Linked DNA regions of Homo sapiens: region 2 is linked to region 1. The links are contacts of gene promoters, found by promoter capture Hi-C in blood cells and fetal thymus (Javierre and others, 2016). All regions are on one chromosome and are shown on one strand. The core of a region is centred on a gene start or on the middle of the fragment in contact, and the rest is flanking DNA. Distances in the headings are between cores, read along the strand shown. Region 1 holds the start of THEM5 (thioesterase superfamily member 5). Region 2 has its middle 20 kb from the start of RIIAD1.

Region 1 (2,998 bases), core at 305-2,804:
AACTCGCTGAGAACTGGAAGGCGGTCTGTGAAGTTGCTTCTCAGTCTTAGAACACAGGGAAGGGCGGCTGGGGTGTGTGTACTCATGGTCCTGTCCTTACCTGAGGAAACTGCCAGTCCAGATGGGAGCTTGAGTCCCCGGATGTGGTCTCTGTTGGACTTGAAGGAGGGCAGCTTGATCCAGCCGCTAGACTTAGTCTTCTCCAGAAATTCTTGGTACAGGCTCAGCATGTCCGAACACCAGCTGGCATTGGGAAGAGCATAATCCTTCAAGTCTGTCTTCTCTGGCAAGAATCTTGAGAACTGGGCAGGAAAAATCAGAATGACTAGACAGCATCCTGGAGGGGGGCTGCTGCCTGGGCTCGGGACCTCTAAACAGCTGTTCCTGGGTGCTGGGGCTTCTCAATCCCTTCTGCCAGAGTATCGATCCAAGGGAAAGGGCCCATATTCCTTGCAGGGGGGCTGCGGACCCCTATGGGTGACGGGGCATAAGGATGCTAAAGAGCAAGGGAAGGGCGGGCAGGGAGTGGGGCCAGAGATGATGGGCATGCTGCTCGATGTGGTGCCTTACCCTTGTTCTGCTTAAAACATGTGAGCAGTTCTTTAAAGTTGACAACTGCTCATATTAGCCTCACTGTACAGATGGGGAAACTGAGGGAATACGGCCAAGGTTGCCAAGCATGTGACTGTGAGAGCTGGTGGTCGCACTAGATGCTGTCTCCTCTGCAGGGCAGGGTCACAGTTGTTGAGGACCATTCTAGCAACCCCCACCTCAGGGGCTACTCCAGCTCTGCCCACTGCTGTGGGCCTGCCTGGGCAGGGTGGCTCCTTTGAAACACATTTGGGCCCCCACAGAGGTGTGGTGCCATGGCTGGGGCACAGACTATGTGCCCATCTGTGTGACGTAAGGAAGTCCTCTGTAGCGTCACCTGCTCATACACCAGTCACAACTGTAGACAGCATGTGAGCTGCTTGCCAATGCCACAGATGGGGTCCTCTGTCTGGGGATACCCCAGCTTTGCTGCAGTAGTCTGAGTCCCACAGGAGGAAAGTCATTTGTTGGTGGCCACACAAGACACAGAGCCAGATGCAGGTCTCCTGGTAGTTTTAGTTTTGAATGGGGGCAACTTGGTATCCCAGAGCACTTTCTCTTTGCCAAATCAAATAGCTCCTCCGAACACTGCCCACCTGCCCTGGCCATGGGCTGGGAAGAGGAGATTTGGGGTGCTCCTTAAGCCCTAGGCTCCTGGGAAAACACTGCCCATCTGGCTGAGCTGGGAACTCACCATGGAGTCTGTGGAGGATCCAAATGCTGAGGCAGGGTTGAGTCTGGGCAGGATACGGGGGGCCTCAAGAAGGCCTCTGTGGTGGCCAAGTCTTGCTGCCACCTGGAAGCATCTCCTTATCATGGCCAAGTGCAAGGATCCAGCCCTGCTTGGATGGAGGGTCTTGGCTGACTCCCAAGGAGTGCTTTCAGCTGCACTTGGGGCCGCTTCTCTCCCTTCTGTTGCAGGCTTTCTTTCAGAGAGCTAGGCGAGGCTGGGCTGGTGTGCTGCAACACCCACAGATGCTCGGCGCCTTTAGCTGGTCTAGGAGCCCCACCCAGTGCTTGGGGAGGGACAGATGCTGCTTGGGCATGAAAAGGCAGCAGGACTGGCTTGAGTTGCAAAAGGAGTAAACAAGTACATAAACAAATAGTATGGGGTATATAGAGCCTTGGAGAGCTGCCTGGGGGTTCTGAGGGAGAATCCAAGAATATTTCCAGAAGGATAAGGGAAGCCTGTCCCTTGATTGGAGGGTGCTGGTGGAGTGTTCTTGGTATGTGCTCTGCAGTGTATACCGGACTCTGAAAACTCTGGTATGATTTTGTGACTCAGAAAACCAACTCACAGGCCGGGTGCGGTGGCTCACGCCTGTAATCCCAGCACTTTGGGAGGCCGAGGCGGCGGATTACGAGGTTAGGAGATCGAGACCATCCTGGCTAACACGGTGAAACCCCGTCTCTACTAAAAAAAATACAAAAAATTAGCCGGGCGTGGTGGCGGGTGCCGGTAGTCCCAGCTACGCAGGGGGCTGAGGCAGGAGAATGGCGTGAACCTGGGAGGTGGAGCTTGCAGTGAGCTGAGATCTAGCCACCGCACTCCAGCCTGGGCGACTGAGCGAGACTCCGTCTCAAAAAAATAAAAATAAAAAAATAAAAAAAAAGAAAACCAACTCACAGCCTTAGACACCTCTTTTTTTTTTTTTTTTTTTTTTTTGGTGAGACGGAGTTTCAATCTTGTCGCCCAGGCTGGTGTGCAATGGCGTGATCTCGGCTCACTGCAACCTCCGCCTCCTGGGTTCAAGTGATTCTCCTGCCTCAGCCTCCTGAGTAGCTGGGATTACAGACACACACCACCACACCCAGCTAAATTTTGTATATTTTTTTTAGTAGAGATGGGGTTTTGCCATGTTAGCCAGGCTGGTCTTGAACTCCTGACCTCAGGTGACCTCCCAAAGTGCTGGGATTACAGGCGTGAGCCACCGCACCCGGCCAACACCTCTTCTTATATCCCGGACAAGGGTTAGCACAGGAGAGTTTCACCTGCTGGTCTCTGGCTGGGGATAGGAGTTGGAGGTGGGGGAGGGCTTGACAGGGAGGGCAGAAAATAATTTGGGAGGAAACAGCTTGGCAGGGATACTCTCATGTTTTGGGAACCCCGTGCCCAGGGAGTGGCTCATGTCAGCAGGCAGTGCTGGGAGTGAGGTGGGCGCGGCAGTGAGGCTTTGTTGAGTGGGAAGGGACACTCAGCCAACATCTGCAAGGCAGTGGGATTTGGTGGTGGTGTGTCTTCTATTGAATTTAAACTGCCAATTTTCAATTAAAAGTCTCAGTTTTAAATTGACTAAAATAAAAGCATGTTCTAAAGATCAGTCCTCGCGCAGTGGCTCAAGGCTGTAATCTCAGCATTTTGGGAGGCCGAGTGAGACCTTGTCTTAAAAAAAAAAAAATCAGAACT
Region 2 (2,998 bases), core at 338-2,837, 110 kb before region 1:
GTGGAGGTTGCAGTGAGCCAAGATTGCACCATAGCAGCCCAGCCTGGGCAACAAGAGTGAAACTCTGTCTCAAAAAAAAAAAAAAAAGAAAGAAAAAGAAAAGAAAAAAAGGTACTATAGTGGATACTGTTGTGCCACCCAGATACCCACCCCCATCAGGACTGAAGCACTCATCCTTGTCCTCCCCCCAGCACTTCTGGGAATTTTGGGTGACTGACAGTTCCTGGTTGCACCAGCATTTCCAAGAATTTGGGTGACTGACAGTTCCCAGCTGGGCTTCCTCCAGGAGTTACCCTTAAGTGAAAATTCATTCAAGATTATGCCCCCTCCTAAGACAGTCTGCATCTACTGGTCAATGTGGAAGTATATTCCCCTGCATGATTCTGATTTCCTTGTCTCAGTGGGGGACAACTCTGCAGGGCCACAACAGTTCCTGAGTTCCTGCTGTCCAGTTCTAAGGCCTTCACTTTCTCCCAGTGTTGTTGATCCTGAGAGCACGACTCAATGAACTGCTTTTACTCAAATCTCCATCTGAGAGTATATTTCCCGAGGAACCCAGCCTGACAGTCAGTGCCAAGAGTGCTGAGGAAGCAGATTCTAAAATGAGATTCTAAACTGGAAATACCTGTTGGCCGCTGGCAGGGAGGGCCACTGGCAGTAGGTGGAGCATGGAGATTCCCCAGCAAGGTATCAGTGCAACTGTCAAAGCTTTCACTAGTGCTGAACTGGGATGGGATCCTGGGGGAAAGCAATGCTTAGTGGGGGAAATATATCAGGTCTGATAAATATATCAGGTTTTATAAAGACAATGGAATTGGATGGCTAGCTGGAGGCAATCAATGCATTGGACAAAGGCAATGAAAGGTTGAGGGTGATTGATCACCAAATAAAGGCTAAGAGTGAAAGCCCAAGGCCCTCCTTAGCAATTTAAAAGACATTTTTTATCTTTTGTATCTAGAGGCCCCCCAAAATTGAGAATAAGGTCCAATATTTAATTGTAACAGTAGCAGGGCTCCAAAGAAGGTTGAATTCTTAACACTGGCAAGAAGGAGTGAGACCCTGAGACATAGGAGTGGGGGCAGCTGGGTTAATGCTTTAAAAAATCTTGAATTTTTAAATTCTCCATCTTTTGGGCCTGCAAAAGTGCCCACTTGTTCCTGGTAAAGGCTATCACTACTTCCTTGCTTAAGGATGATAGAGAAGCCTCTGGCTTGCAAGACCACACAGGTTCCCTTCAAAACCTACCCCACCTCCTCTCCTGATCTGCAAACCAATAACTAGGATTAAGTACTTTTAGAACTCAGCTAAGATTCCCCTAAGAGAAAAAATGCACCATGCCCTGGAGGTTCAAGAGGACCTAACTAGCAAATACAGGTTGGAGATGTATGGGACTGGATTCTGAGGGTGTTGGATCAAGGAGGGTGGGACATAAAGTTTGATAAGGGAGAGTGTATGGATATGGGAGCCCATTCTTTTTTTTTTTTTTAAGACAGAGTGTCACTCTTGTTGCCCAGGCTGGAGTGCAGTGGTGTGATCTCAGCTCACTGAAAACTCCACCTTCCGGTTTCAAGCGATTCTCCTGCTTCAACCTCCTGAGTAGCTGGGATTACAGGCACATGCCTGCCATCATGCCCGGCTAATTTTTGTATTTTTAGTAAAGATGGGGTTTCACCGTGTTGGCCAGGCTGGTCTCAAACTCCTGACCTTGCGATCCGCCCCGCCTCAGCCTCCCAAAGTGCTGGGATTACAGGCATGAGCCACTGCGCCTGGCCTATGGGAGCCCATTCTTAGGATATGGGATTTAGTACTCTGACAAAGACCCTAAGAGATGTTGCTAACATTCTGATAGTGTAACTGAGTACCCCATTTTCCAAGAGATAGTTTATTTTTTTCTCTCTTTTTCTCTTTTCTGCTTTTCCCCTATAACTGCATTTAGAAATGCAGTTATAGCCTTTTACCTCCTCTTCACCAGACACTCCCTACAGGGCAAGTTCATCTAACTGTGTGTTTAGAAGTCCCAGAGCAGAACTCTCACCCAAGCAGGAGGTTACCTGAAGAGACAACCTACAAGTCCATCTACAAGCCAATGTATGCCTGCTATGAGACTCTCTCACCTGGAGAGTTTTTGGCTGCTTTGGCAACCTAGTCCTGCCCATGAAGGTGCCAGTAGTCACCAGCTCGGCCACCCAGTAGACAAGGCACCAAAGCGAGTATGCAGGCACCCCAGCTGCCTGCTTCTTCCCCTGCATGCCATTCATGTCAGCATGCCAGGTCCCCTTTTAAAAGCACCTGTTTTCTGCTCCAAGAGTGAAGTGGTACCCTAAAAGCCGGAGGCTATACCTTCTTCCCCTAAGCTAGCTTTGGAATAAAAAGTCGCTTTCTTTATACCAGACCTTGCTTTTGTTAATTGGACTCTGTAAGCAGCAAGCAACTGAACCTGTTTTGGTTACAGTGGGATGGCTCTGGGAAGCTTGGAGAAAGTCATGGCCCACATTAAGTGAAGTAGGCGTGTGAGGAGTGCTGTGGCATATAGTGGAAGAGGTGTTAAATGGCTCAAAAGAGTGGGCCTGCTAGGCCGGGTGTGGTGGCTCATGCCTGTAATCCCAGCACTTTGGGAGGCTGAGGTAGGAGGACTGCTTGAGCCCAGGAGTTCAAGCACAGCCTGGGCAACATAATAAGACCCCATCTCTATTTAAAAAAGAAAGAGTGGGTATGCTAGAATTAATATGTAAAGTCAGAAAACTCACCAAATGCTTATGTTTCATCAGACATCCCAAAGAATATTCACTTTCTTTAAAAGGCTCAAAAGAGTGGGCATGCGAGGCTGGGCGTGGAAAGAATACTCAATTTCTTGAAGTGATGAAGAATGTGCTGGTAAGAGAAGCTCAGGGTTGGCTGTTCTCTGTAGGCCAGGGCTGACATAGGGTATACGGTCACAGAGCTGGGCTTACTAGTAGCAGAGGGACAATAGGATGCCAGAGTCAAAGTAGCAGAATTA

What was found. The method cuts DNA at HindIII sites, captures the fragments that hold promoters and counts their contacts. A CHiCAGO score of 5 or more calls a contact.
Region 2: a contact is called between a fragment that was not itself captured here and the fragment with the promoter of THEM5 in region 1, in 2 of 17 cell types (M2 macrophages and M1 macrophages). The highest score is 5.8, in M2 macrophages.

What each region holds. Positions count from the first base shown.
Region 1 is chr1:151,852,158-151,855,155 of GRCh38, forward strand. It overlaps THEM5 (thioesterase superfamily member 5), which reads right to left and starts at 1,555. Exons shown (of 6, transcript NM_182578.4): 1 at 1,286-1,555; 2 at 101-302. The coding sequence starts at 1,408. The HindIII fragment of the contact is 9,012 bases long and covers 1-2,998 here.
Region 2 is chr1:151,739,537-151,742,534 of GRCh38, forward strand. No RefSeq gene overlaps it. Among named protein-coding and RNA genes, the nearest start is that of RIIAD1, 20 kb to the left of the region's middle. The HindIII fragment of the contact is 1,762 bases long and covers 707-2,468 here.